2 separate regions of the Homo sapiens genome follow, and region 2 is linked to region 1. The links are contacts of gene promoters, found by promoter capture Hi-C in human tissues and cell types (Jung and others, 2019). All regions are on one chromosome and are shown on one strand. The core of a region is centred on a gene start or on the middle of the fragment in contact, and the rest is flanking DNA. Distances in the headings are between cores, read along the strand shown. Region 1 holds the start of UTS2R (urotensin 2 receptor). Region 2 overlaps WDR45B (WD repeat domain 45B).

Evidence for each region. Contacts are between HindIII fragments. The study calls those that stand out against the background at their distance.
Region 2: a fragment that was not itself captured here is called in contact with the fragment with the promoter of UTS2R in region 1 in 5 of the 25 tissues and cell types used here (IMR-90 fibroblasts, dorsolateral prefrontal cortex, liver and 2 more).

What each region holds. Positions count from the first base shown.
Region 1 is chr17:82,369,324-82,376,477 of GRCh38, forward strand. It overlaps UTS2R (urotensin 2 receptor), which reads left to right and starts at 2,442. Exons shown (of 3, transcript NM_018949.3): 1 at 2,442-2,724; 2 at 3,275-3,460; 3 at 4,920-7,154. The coding sequence starts at 5,002. The coding sequence ends at 6,171. The HindIII fragment of the contact is 34,629 bases long and covers 1-7,154 here.
Region 2 is chr17:82,634,580-82,641,463 of GRCh38, forward strand. All of the region lies in intron 2 of WDR45B (WD repeat domain 45B), which reads right to left. Among named protein-coding and RNA genes, the nearest start is that of WDR45B, 10 kb to the right of the region's middle. The HindIII fragment of the contact is 7,436 bases long and covers 218-6,884 here.

The sequences.
Region 1 (7,154 bases), core at 1,192-3,691:
GTTGGGCGTAGTGGCTGGGCAACATGGTGAAACTTGTCTCTACAAAAAATACAAAAATTAGCCAAGTGTAGTGTAGCGGTGCATGTCTGTAGTCCCAGCTACTCGGGAGGTAGGAGAATTGCTTGAGTGTAGGAAGTCAAAGAAAGCTGCGGTGAGCCATGATCACACCCCTGCACTCCAGCCTGGGCGAGCCTAGGCTAGACCTTAGAGCGAGACCCTGTCTCAAATAAAGAAAGAAATACATTCCCATTTTCTGGTGAAAATTTCCATCTTTTCATGCATGTTGCCCAGGTTCTTCTGCTTGCTTTACTATATTTGTAACAGTTTTTGTAAAACAGAAACTCCTGGTCTGCTAATTCCAATACTTGTGTCACATATGGACCTGCTTCTATCGGCTATTTTTCCCCCATCAATTATGGATCACATAAGATATGAAGCAGCAAGGAAACAATAATCAGATTATTATTTCCTTGCTGAAGCATTTTATACATAGCAACTGTCAAAGTCCAAATATACAGACAAATCTTTAAGTTTAATGTTTAATTTTAGGAAGAATTTCAATTCGGTATGTTCAAGAACAAAAGAAAATCGGGATTCTTTTGGAAAGAGAAACGTTATCTATTGCTTTGAAAGAAAGCCCGTTGGCACTGGTAGTTCGGGGGAGCTGGCAAGCTCAGGCGAGTGGCCTCAGTGGTAAAACCAGCACTGGAGGCCAGGCACGGTGGCTCACGCCTGTAATCCTAGCACTTTGGGAGGCTGAGGTGGGCAGATCACCTGAGCTCAGGAGTTCGAGACCTACCCGGCCAACATGATGAAACCCCGTCTACTACAAACACAAAAATTAGCTGGGTGTGGTGGCGGGTGCCTGTAATCCCAGCTACTTGGGAGGCTGAGGCAGGAGAATTGCTTGAGCCTGGGAGGTGGAGGTTGCAGTGAGCCGAGGTTGCAGTGAGCCGAGATCGCACCACTGCACTCCAGCCCGGGTGAAAGAGTGAGACCCCATCTCAAAAAAATAAATAAATAAATAATAAAAAAATAAAATAAAAAATAAAAAACCCGGTGTTCGTGTCAGGGCAGGTCGTTTCAGCAGCTACTCGGTGAACTGGCTGAGGTGACAGCAGATCGTTTCGGCAGCTGGCTTGCGGGAAATTTAATTCTTGGAGCAGGCATTCTGGGTCCTGAGTGCTTTTCCCCAGCCCTAGCCCCTAGACTCCAGCTTAGTAATCAGCTCTCACAGAACCATCACGTCGGAGGCAGCCTTCCACCCCCTTTCCTCCCGCGCACAGGCAGGATGAGCTGCTCCCCTTTCGGGTCGGAAGCTGCAGCTGTATTTGGTTTCAGTTCGGCTGTTTTCAGCTCACAGAGAATGAACTGTCTTATTGTGTGACCCTTGCTCCGTCCAGCGGACGCTCGGAGACCAGAGGGACTTTTCCCGCCCTCTCCAGCCCAGCCTCGCCTCCCCAGCACGTGGCAAACGTCCCACGGAGGGGACTGGTGGGCATCTGGGGCTCCCCCGGATCCAGCTGATTGCAGGAGCCTCTCGGCCATTCACACTTGGCCACCTCCTCTCCCCCAGCAGAACCCCTTCAGCTTTAGGGGCCGGTCCGCGGCCTCAGGCAGCAGATGAGCCCCGGGCGGAGTGGAGTGGGCGAGGCCAGCTCCTCGCTGGGGGCCCTTTAGACCCCGTGTTCACAGCTCTCCAGCTCTCCTCTAGTCTAATTTATTAATGTTCTGTGTCTTTTTCTTTCAGGGGTTCAGCATGAGTGAAGGCCCACATCCTACCTCCGAGCAGCAAGTGAAACCGAGTGGGGGCCAGCACCCAGCTCAGGGGCTCGAGGGTGAGGCTGTGGGGTCCTTCCTCCTACCCCGCGGGGCCCTGCAGCTCCCAGCGTCACTTCCGTGGATGTGGCCACCACGAGTCCCTGCCGAGGCCTGGAGAGGCTGCGTGGGCTTCTAAGAGCATCTGTGGGAGACCCGCAACAGGGGCGGGGTCAAGGCCCCCAAAGAGCCCGTCCCCGCCTGGGCGGGTGACTCCCTCCCTCCCTTACCTCCTTTCTATGACCCTCTCGGGGTTTAGGGGTGTTCCTGCCCCCCACCTGCGCGCGGGCGGGTCCAGGGCTTGGTGGACACGGAGAATCCCAGGCTCCGTGCCCTGCAAACACGGGCGTGAGGGGCGCAGGGGTGAACGCTGGAGGCGGAGAACCCAAGAGGGGCTGCGGGGTCAGCCTTGGGGCAGCCGGGCTGGAGGCAGCTTCGCTCCGCAGACGCAGACGCGAGACCCGCCTGGGACCCTCCGCCGACCCCGCTGCGGCCCCGCGACCCCCGCGTCTTCCCGGCGCCGCGCGGTCAGCGCCGCCCCCTAGACACCCGGCGCCGTCCCCTCCGCGCGCCTGCTGCCCGCTGGGGTTATTTTAATACCGGGCCCTGGCGCGGGGCGCGGCGCATTCCCAGCTGGCGGCGGGCAGGTGGCGGCGGCGCAGAGACCCGGCGCGGGGCGGGGGGCGCGGCTTTGGTGGCGGGACTGGCGGGCGCCCCTGCCGTGTGCTCTGGAAGCCGAGGCCACCGCGGAGCCCCTCGCGCCCCCTCTGCGCTGGGACAGGGGAGCGCGCCTCGGAAAGTTCCCCGCGGCCCCGCTGCGCGAGGAGTTTGGAGCCGCGAGCGGCTGCCCCCACGCGCGACCCCAGGCTCGGCGGGCAGGTCTGGCCGCTCAGTGACCGGAGGCAGGTGGGTCCTCGGTGGGTGACCGGGAGCGCGCGGGGACTGCCGGGTCTGTGCCCTTCGGGGCCCTCCGCAGGGCTGGGCCGGGGTTTCGCGGTGGGAACCCACCCTGGGCGAGGGGAGCGGGGTCCAGCGAGGCGGCTTCTCCCGTGCCGTGGAACTTTCGGCCCCTCCCCTTCCCCCCTAGCGACCCTGGAGCAATCCTAGCGGCCCGGCGGCCGCTGTCCCCCTGCCCGTGACTCGGGCTCGCGCACAACTGGGGAGCCCGGTGCACCCTCGGCTTCTGCGCCGTCCCCTGGGTGAGGGCTCTGGAAATGCCCTGGGTGGGGGCAGCAAGGGGGTGAGGGTCCCCTGGACAGATGGAGCTGGGAGCTGCTCGGCCTGGTGGGAAAGGGCGGACAGGGCACATTTCCAGGCCCTGGAAGGCCCCCAGCGCCCCCACCTGTTGACAACTCCCCACCCCAGCCAAGACTGCTCCCTGCGCAGCCATGAGTGTTCGGCCTAAATTCAGCGTGGCTCGTGGAATCAGGCAGCCTCCTGTGTCTTGTTTCTTCAGCCCACCACCGCGCTGTTTCATCCAGGCTGCTGACCCCAGCGGCGACTCCTTCACTGGCTTCATGTCACAGTTTGCCTGCCCCGTCCACTGGGGACATTTGAGCTGTTTCCAGCTTCTTAGGAGTCAAGCTGCCGTGAACTTTCGCACGCTTGTCATTTTCTGAACGTTGGCAGCCCTTTATCTAAGGTACTAACCTGAGAGTAGAATTGCCGGGTGAGAAGGTATAGGCGGTCAACTCTGCAAATCGTGCCAATGGCTTTCCAAAGCGGCGGCACAGTCCAGGTTCCCAGCAACAGGAAACGGCAGGGCCAGCTCCTCCACAGCCCCCACGCCTGTTGACAAGGATATCTGCCTTTTCACGCGTTCATCCTTGTCAGCACGCAGGGGCTCCTGTGGCCCTGACTGGCATTTCCCTGCTTGTTGGCTGCGTGGGTGTCCTTTTCAGGAAGTCCCCGGTCACGGTTTTGGTCTCTTTTTTTCAAATGGGTTGTTTGTCTTTTCCTTACTAATTTGCAGTTCTTCCCTATATTTTTCTTACCAGCTTTTTGTCTATGTTTCTTCTTTTTTTTTTTCTCTGAGACAAAGTCTCACTTTGTTGCCCAGGCTGGAGTGCGGTGGCACAATCTCAATCTTGGCTCACTGCAACTTCCACCTCCCGAGTTCAAACAATTCTCCTGCCTCAGCCTCCCGAGCAGCTGGGATTACAGGCGTGTGCCACCATGCCCGACTAATTTTTGTATTTTTAGTAGAGACGGGGTTTCGAGATGTTGGCCAGGCCGGTTTCGAACTCCTGACCTCAGGTGATCCACTTGCCTAGGCCTCCTAAAGTGCTGGGATTACAGGCGTGAGCCACTGCAACTGGCCTGATATATGTTTTCTGATGATCTCCTAGCCTGTGGCTTATGATTTCGCTCTCTTGGTAAAGTTCTTAATTTTAATGAAACCCATTTGCTTAGTCTTTTATTGAAAGTATTTTTTGTTCATTTTTAAGAAATATTTTCCCATCCAAGGTTATGCCAGTATTCCCGTTTTCTTCCAGAACCTCGACTGACTGATTTAACCTTTCACACTTAGGCCTGCAATCCATCTTGAATTCGTTTCCCTGTATGAGAAATGGAGATTGCAGAGGCCTTCCTCTCCTTACATGTTCTTCTATTTGGACTTTTAAAGTCAGTAGCTACTAGTTTTGCAATCTAAAGAAAACATTTTTTTAAATGTACAAGTCAAATAAATACGAGAAAGGACTCAGGAGTAAGTGGGCCCCACCTGTGCACAGACAAGAAAGTGAGGCCTGGGGGGGCGCAATGGGCAGAGCCCAGGACTCCCAGTTCTGTCCACTGCCGACCTCTGCCCCAGGGGCTGCCCTCCTGTGTTCCGGCTTTCAGAAAAGCCCAGTTCATCCCAGAGGCCATGGGACCTACAGTGAGGGGGGGGCAGGGGTCCTGCTGGGGCATGCGGGGGTCGGGGAGGGGGGTTGGGGCAGCTCGTCTGGTGGCTCTTGAGTCCTCCTGCAGAGCTGGTGGCTTCCAGAGAGTCCCGAGAGTTGGAGGGCACTGGGGAGCCCACGTGACTCTGTGGGAACGAGGCCATCACAGTGGCCTCCTGGGAGCGGAAGGTGTTGCCTGATTTGCTTCTTTCCCCACAGGCTGAGCTGGTTGCCCACAGGGGCCCCCGCCCCATCTCAGGGAGTGTCCACCCAGCCCTGAGCCCGTCGTGAGGGGTCAGAGATGGCGCTGACCCCCGAGTCCCCGAGCAGCTTCCCTGGGCTGGCCGCCACTGGCAGCTCTGTGCCGGAGCCGCCTGGCGGCCCCAACGCAACCCTCAACAGCTCCTGGGCCAGCCCGACCGAGCCCAGCTCCCTGGAGGACCTGGTGGCCACGGGCACCATTGGGACTCTGCTGTCGGCCATGGGCGTGGTGGGCGTGGTGGGCAACGCCTACACGCTGGTGGTCACCTGCCGCTCCCTGCGTGCGGTGGCCTCCATGTACGTCTACGTGGTCAACCTGGCGCTGGCCGACCTGCTGTACCTGCTCAGCATCCCCTTCATCGTGGCCACCTACGTCACCAAGGAGTGGCACTTCGGGGACGTGGGCTGCCGCGTGCTCTTCGGCCTGGACTTCCTGACCATGCACGCCAGCATCTTCACGCTGACCGTCATGAGCAGCGAGCGCTACGCTGCGGTGCTGCGGCCGCTGGACACCGTGCAGCGCCCCAAGGGCTACCGCAAGCTGCTGGCGCTGGGCACCTGGCTGCTGGCGCTGCTGCTGACGCTGCCCGTGATGCTGGCCATGCGGCTGGTGCGCCGGGGTCCCAAGAGCCTGTGCCTGCCCGCCTGGGGCCCGCGCGCCCACCGCGCCTACCTGACGCTGCTCTTCGCCACCAGCATCGCGGGGCCCGGGCTGCTCATCGGGCTGCTCTACGCGCGCCTGGCCCGCGCCTACCGCCGCTCGCAGCGCGCCTCCTTCAAGCGGGCCCGGCGGCCGGGGGCGCGCGCGCTGCGCCTGGTGCTGGGCATCGTGCTGCTCTTCTGGGCCTGCTTCCTGCCCTTCTGGCTGTGGCAGCTGCTCGCCCAGTACCACCAGGCCCCGCTGGCGCCGCGGACGGCGCGCATCGTCAACTACCTGACCACCTGCCTCACCTACGGCAACAGCTGCGCCAACCCCTTCCTCTACACGCTGCTCACCAGGAACTACCGCGACCACCTGCGCGGCCGCGTGCGGGGCCCGGGCAGCGGGGGAGGCCGGGGGCCCGTTCCCTCCCTGCAGCCCCGCGCCCGCTTCCAGCGCTGTTCGGGCCGCTCCCTGTCTTCCTGCAGCCCACAGCCCACTGACAGCCTCGTGCTGGCCCCAGCGGCCCCGGCCCGACCTGCGCCCGAGGGTCCCAGGGCCCCGGCGTGAGCACGCGGAGGGGCGGCTGGAGTCCAGGCGGGGACGCGCCCCAAAGCCCCAGCCACTCCCGGGAGCCCCCCCAACTCCCAAATCACAGGCCCTGCCCCTCCTCCGTCCCCTTCTGGAAAGATCCTGCTCGCTTCCCCTCAGCGCCCTTCCCGTGATGCCCAGAAGCGCCCACCCGCCTCCCTGAGGGTCTCCAGGAGGCTCCAGCGCAGTCCCGGCTTCTGGAGACCATGGCTTCGTCACAGAGGGCAGCAGGCGCCAGTGCCCGGCCCGTGTGGAGACCATGGCGCGGCTGCCGCCCCCGGGACCCTCCTCCTCTCAGCCAGCGGCCCTGTGACTCCTGTTCCTGCCTGTGTGGCTCCATCCCTTGTGGCTTTGCCACTGGAACAATCAACCCTGAGCTGGCTTCCGTGTCCTGCCTAGGCGCGGGGGACGCCACATCTGAGGTGTGGGAGGATCGGCCGGCAGGATCCCCAGGACGACAACGGCAGCTCAAGGGGGAGCCTGTGGGTCTGGCTGGGGTAGAGGGTGCACCTGCCTTTGAGGCCTGTGCAGGCGGCTGGTCTGGCACCTGATGTGGGGCAGGGAAGGTGGCCAGGAGGGGAGGCTCCAGCTGAGGGGTGGAGCAGGGAAGGCACTGCCCAGCAGAGGCCTGAGGCTTTGGGTGCAGAACGCAAGAGGACAAGGTCAGTGGCCGCACCTACAGGCCTCCTGGCCTCTCATCCACGTCTGGCTCAGGTCTGATCAGAAAGGGAATCCAGGTCCCACCTCACAGTAGCATTGGCAGTCTCTGCCCCACTCACCCCTCACTGCCTCCTGGACAGACTTCCTGCCCCAGCTCCCAGCTTGGCCAACCATCCTCTCTCTGGCGACTGCCCCCCTCCAGCCCCCAGCCCGGCCCCGGACCCTGCATGGCCTCCCCCAGCCTGGCCTCCCCTCCCCACCCCATGGCCATGCCCAGACTACCAGCCCCTTGGGGCTCCATC
Region 2 (6,884 bases), core at 2,686-5,185, 270 kb after region 1:
AGAGATACCCGCACACCCACGCTTGTAGCAGCATCATTCACAATAGCAAAGATGCAGAAGGACCCGAGTGTCCACAGATGGAGAAATGAACAAACAGCACGTGCTCCATACGTGCAGTGATTTATTATTCAGCCTTAAACAGAAACAATATTTCTCATTTATGATTTTGTCAAGATAAGGTCTCACTATGTTGCCCAGACTGGTCTCAAACTCCTGGCCTCAAGCAATCCTCCTGCCTCAGACTCTGAAAACACTGGGATTACAGGGGTGAGCTGCGGTACCCGGCCTGAAGTTCTGACCCAGGCTGCAACAGAGATCAACCTAGAGAACACTACACTAAGTGAAATAAGCCAGGCATATATGATGGCATTCACGGGAAGTCCCTACAGCAGTCAAGTTCATGGAGACAGAAAAGTAGCACGGTGGTTACTAGGAGACAGGGGAGGCAGAATTGATGGATGTAGACTTTGGCTTCCCAAGATGAAATTCTAGAGGTCCGTTTAACAACAATGTGAATATATTCAACATTACTGATCTATGCGCTTAAAAATGGTTAAGATGGTAAATTTTATTTTACATAATTTTTTACCATAATTTTTTTTTTAAAAAATGCTGCCACTGAAGACCTTCTTTGCCCCAGGTGTCAGAAGTGTAACTATTTCCTCAATGTAGGTTCAGTAAGTTTTAGAAACACATCTGAGTGACCTGAGAATTATGTCAAGGTCACTAATGTACTCTTCAAACACTATTTAACCGAGAGACAATGTTTAGCCCTTTTATAAACTACATGATCTTAGGCTTATTAATAAAGTTATTAATGCTTGATTATATCATAAGTCTTTTCAGGTTTTTTTTTTTTTTTTGAGATGGAGTTTTGCTCTTGTCGCCCAGGATGGAGTGCAGTGGTGCGATCTTGGCTCACTGCAACCTCCACCTCCTGGGTTCAAGTGATTCTCCTGCCTCAGCCTCCCAAGTAGCTGGGATTACAGGCGCCCATCACACCCAGCTAATTTTTGTATTTTTAGTAGAGACGGCGTTTCACCATGTTGGCCAGGCTGGTCTCGAACTCCTGACCTCAGGAGATCCACCCACCTCGGCCTCCCAAAGTGCTGGGATTACAGGCATTAGCCACTGTGCGCAGCCGTCTTTTCAAGTTCTAAAAGCAACAAGTCATTCCCTTAGCAAGATGTGATTCTAGCTAATGGTTAAGTAAAGAAATGTTGGCTGGGTGCAGGGGCTGACACCTATAATCTCAGCACTCTGGGAGGCCAGGCCGAGGCAGGTGGATCCCTCAGGTCGGGAGTTCAAGACCAGCGCGACCAACATGGAAAACCCCCGTCTCTACTAAAAATACAAAACTTGCCAGGTGTGGTGGCGCATGCCTATAATCCCAGCTACTCGAGAAGTTGGGGCAGGAGAATCACTTGAACCCGGGAGGCAGAGGGTGCGGTGAGCCGAGATCGCGTCACTGCACTCTAGCCTGGGCAACAAGAGTGAAACTTCGTCTCTCAAATAAATACATAAATAAAAAATAAAAATACAAAAATCAGCCAGCTGTGTAGTCCCAGCTACTCGGGAGGCTGAGGCAGGAGAATCACTTGAACCCGGCAGGTGGAGGTTGCAGTGAGCCGAGATCACGCCACTGCACTCCAGCCTGGGTGACAGAGCAAGACTCCGTCTCAAAAAAAAAAAAAAAAAAAGAAGACAAACACAGTCAGTCACAGGCACAGTTAGCTATGCGGTCTCTGGGTTTTAAAAATGGAAAGAAAAAAAAGAAAAACAGATTTTTCAGAATCAAGTGAAGAGGCAGAGAAGGAGAGTTAAGGCCTTTCCTGGAATGAGAAGTAATCAAAGGTAAGAGCCAAACTTCAGGAATTAGAGAGGACTTCTAAACCCCGCCAAAGAGATTCTCCCATAATACCTGACCCCCACCTCCTGCAGCTGAAGAGGGGGAAAGGGTCTCCCCACAGAAAGACCAGGGTTACATTCAGAGCTTTCTATGTTCCAGATCCCAAGGGCTGGTACTGAAATATTACAAAGGATATTCGTTGTTACAGAAAAATGTAAGATACAATAAATCTTTCTGAGTTTCTCTTCAAAGGGTTTATTTAGCCTGTTAACTTCCTTATCCTTTGTTCTCGAACTCGACTTTCTTGTTCTTCCTTGCCCCTAGTTACTGTAAACAGCCTACCCGCTTCCCGTCAACTCTAATCAATAACTCACACCTGTTCCCTTGGTTACCTGTACACATTGTTCCCCTGAAACTGCACGTCTCACACGCTCCACCTCTGTACCTCACATCCCCCTCCCCTTCTATATTTAGAAAAATATGTACAAGTAGCCTATTGGGTCAGCTCAGATTGTGCAGTCCGACCCCAGCCCATAGGGGAGTGACACAGAGATAGGGACTGCGTTCAGGATAAAAACCCCCGGTCTCCTTTGTTCTCTGTGCTCTTGCCATCTTGACTGATGCAAGGGGCACCCTTCTGCAGAAGTAAATTGCCTTACTGAGAGAATTAAACTTTTGCCTGAGTGCTGGTTTTACTTCACAGCACTGAGCATTTATTTATTCCTGGAACATTTTATACCCACAAAAAGAAGAAATGCCCAAGCCTGCCCAGGATGTCAGCGTCTACATCTCTAAGGGTCCCTGGCGGTCGGACTTGTCTGTAACAGCAACTAAAATTGCAGCAATAGGTTGCGTAGGACACAAAACAGGCTCCTACTAAACATCAGCTGAGGAAAACTTGAGGTACACCCCAGTCCTTGTGGTACAGAGAAAAACCCTCTCCTCTAATCATGGTCTCTATTCTCACACAATCACCAACACAGAAGACTTCTGTGACTAAAGCAGAAACCGCACAGCAAACCCCAGCTGGTCTTCCTCTAACTCAGTTCTGACACCATCTACCTGGAGAGAGTATTAGATCCCACAGGTTGAAGGCTCAGTCCCCAAGACCGACTGCACCACACACCAGTCACAAGTTAGAACCTTCAAAACTTCTGACTGACCAGCTTCAAGTTGGGGTTCCCGTGACCCCTTCTTTGGGTTCAATTTGCTGGCACGGCTCACCGAACTCAGGGAAACACTTCCTTATGTTTACCAGTTTATAACAAAGAATATTACAAAGGATACAGATGAAGAGATGCATAGGGCAAGGTATTAGGGGAAGGACACAAAGCTTCCGTGAAGCTCTCTGAACCCCGTCTCCTTGGGATTTTATGGAAGCTTCATGATATCAGCATTCCTTTCCCAGGGGCAGAGGGTACGGCCTTCTCTGGGGAGGGTCCTGAGACCCACAATTAGAAAGGGTGGGGGTGTGGTGGTTAATGCCTGTAATCCCAGCACTCTGGGAGGCCGAGGCAGACAAATAACTTGAAGTCAAGAGTTCGAGACCAGCCTGGTCAACGTGGTGAAACCCCATCTCTACTAAAAATACAAAACAAACAAAAAAACGTAGCCAGGTGTGGTGGCATGTGCCTGTAATCCCAGCTACTTGGAAGGCTGAGGCACGAGAATCGCTTGAACCCATGAGGTGGAGGTTGCAGTGAGCCAAGATGGAGCCACTGCACTCCAGCCTGGGAGAGATTCTGTCAAAGAAGAGGGGAGGCGAGGGAAAGGGAGGGGAGGGAAAGGGAGGGGAGGGGAGAGGAGGGGAGGGGAGGGGAGGGGAGGGGAGGGGAGGGGAGGGGGGAGGAGGAAAGAAAGAAAGAAAAAAGAAAAGAAAGGAAGGAAGGTGGGGTGGTGGTGGGGAGACAGGACACGTTAGGGTGAAAGGGGGGTAGGAGAAGGTCAGAGGCCTCCCCTGAGGGCCAATATTGTAACAAAAAGACTAACCAGGTCTGTGGGAGTTACCGGCCAGGGTGAAAACCAAAATATATAATTACACCACATCTTGACAGGCCCAGACTCTCCCAACAGAGCCTGCTGCAAAACACAAGAAACTAATAAAAGAAAATGGGGAAAGGGGATGTCTGAATACTGGCATAACTTCTATTCCACTAAGAGATGCTTGAAAAATGAATCACTTTATACAAATGAGTGAAAATCAACCATTCTAGCACTTGAGGCTAATAACCTTTTTATTTTTGCCTCTGTCATGTCGTGCAGTCCCTGTTTCTCGTTCCTATTTCTGTGGAGTTTTATTTTTAAAGAAAACCTTATTTCCCATTATAAAAATTATGCATCATTTCTATAAAACAACACAGAAAAGCATAAAGTAGAAAACACTGTGAAACAACATCATTTATGTACTTTTTTTGAGACAGAGTCTCGCTCTGTCACCAGGCTGGAGTGCAGTGGCACGATCTCGGCTCACTGTAACCTCCGCCTCCTGGGTTCAAGTGATTCTCCTGCCTCAGCCTTCCAAGTAGCTGGGACTACAGGCACCCACCACCATGCCCGGCTAATTTTTTTATTTTTAGTAGAGATGGGGTTTCACCATGTTGGCCAGGATGGTCTCGATCTCCTGACCTCGTGATCCACCTGCCTCGGCCTCCTAAAGTGCTGGGATTACAGGCATGAGCCACTCTGCCTGGCCACGTATGTTCTAAACTTTGTGCATAGATATTTTGTTCCTATAACACCATCTATGCTATTCTCTACTTTCTTTTTCCTTTAACAATGCCATGGCCATCTCTCCAAATGAGGATTCAGATTGGTCTCGGCATTCTTACCGCATGAAGCACCATTTTGAGGATGTGCCACAACCACAGTAATCACCCCTTTCATGAAAGTCATTCGGGTTCTCCAATTTTCCACTCTTGGAAACAGCGTTGCAAGTAATATTGGTATACAGGCACCAAACAGTACATCTATAATGAACACAGCTTGCCAAATTACTCCACAAGGCTCTACCAATTTAACCTTCTACCACCAGGTTACCAAACTTCCCCTTTCCACCTCCTTCCCAAAGCTACCCACCACCTCTGTGTCCTCCCCACCCGCAGGAACCACCTGCTACCTACACATTGCAGGCCTCCCATTTCTCTAGCACCTTCACCTGGCACGCTGGGTGAGCACACAGCACGAAGCCTGCAGGACCTGTTGTGAAGCTAGATGTGCTGAGGCTGCCGGGCTGTGTGTGTGTCGGGTCTGGCGGGCTGCTGGGCTGTGTCAGGTCGAGAGGGCTGCCAGGCTGTGTGTCAGGTCAGGTAGGCTGCTGGGCTGTGTGTAGGTGGGGCGGGCTGCTGGGCTGTGTGTGTGTGGGGTCGGGAGGGCTGCTGGGCTGTGTGTGTGTCAGGTCGGGAGGGCTGCCGGGCTGTGTGTCGGGTCAGGTGGGCTGCCGAGCTGTGTGTGGGTCGGGAGGGCTGCTGGGTTGTGTGTGTGTCGGGTCAGGTGGGCTGCTGGGCTGTGTGTGTGTCGGGTCAGGTGGGCTGCTGGGCTGTGTGTGGGTCGGGAGGGTGGCTGGGCTGTGTGTGTGGAAAGAACAAACCTGGGTGTACAATGGATGCAGGACCTATGTCGGGGAGCAGGGTTGGACAACACTGCCCCCCAAGACTGAAGGAGCAGGGATCCCCAAGAAGGCTTCCCTGAACTACCAGCTTCCCGTTCCTGCCAAGTGGCAGAAGGCGTATCTGGAAACAGCAGCCTGCTCAGAGCCCACAGTCTCCTTACTCAATGCACAGTCACCCTGGAGAGAACCATGCCACAAGCCCAGATCCAGGACACACTGTCATGCAGGCTTCCTTCCCCACCACTCAGGAAAGCAAACTGCTACAATTAAAAAGGAACAAGGGCAAGTCTGGTGCTGCTCTTCACTGGGATTTTTTTCTTTTTTTTTTTTTTTTAAGACAGAGTCTCACTCTGCCATCAGGCTGCAGTGCAGTGGCGAGATCTCGGCTCACTGCAACCTCCGACTCCCTGGTTCAAGCAATTCTCCTGCCTCAGCCTCCCGAGTAGCTGGGATTAAAGGCACGCACCACCAGGTCCAGCTAATTTTTGTATTTTTAGTAGAGATGGGGTTTCACTGTGCCGGCCAGGATGGTTTCGATCTCCTGACCTCGTGATCTGCCCACCTTGGCCTCCCAAAGTGCTGGGATTAGAGGCCTGGCCTGCTCTTCATTGTTAAACTGTAAGCTGCCAGACGCAGAGCAGCAGATGAGTCTGTAAGTGCAGAGCCAAACTGTTTAAATGTGCCATCAAAAAGACAGTGTGGCCCTACTGTATCCATTTCACATTAGGGCCTATCTACTCACATAAGCTGGAAACGGGAGCACACCACACATGCACATGTGAGAACTCACTGCATGCTAAGCTCAGGGACAGCCTGCCCCAGACACAGCCGAGCTGGCAGACGCACAAGACCGGGTATATGTGTGTGATGAGCTAAACCATGACAATGGTATACTTTTCTGGAATTTAGAAGTTTTAGATGTTTCTTGTCTGGGTTTTTTTTTTTTTTGAGACGGAGTCTTGCTCTGTCGCCCAGGATGGAGTGCAGTGGCGCAATCTCGGCTCACTGCAACCTCGGCCTCCCGGGTTTAAGTGATTCTCGTGCCTCAACCTCCCCAGTAATTTGAATTACAGGTATGCGCCACCACGCCTGGCTAACTTTTTGTATTTGTAGTAGAGATGGGGTTTCACCGTGTTGCCCAGGCTGGTCTCGAACTCCTGAGCTCAGGCAATCTGCTCGCCTCAGCCTCCCAAAGTGCTGGGATTACAGGCGTGAGCCACCGTGCGGGCCGTCAAACTCATTTTTATAAGAAATGTTGAATTTACTGTAAACACTTCATTAATTAGGAAGCAGTTGTTAATATGCTGTTGTGGTGTTATGAGAGAGACACATACAGGTTTTCACCCACGGTTCCTGGCTCATAACTCCCAGACCTTGTTACAATCTTTTGTTATAATATTGGGTGTGTTAGGCCCTCAGGAACCAGAA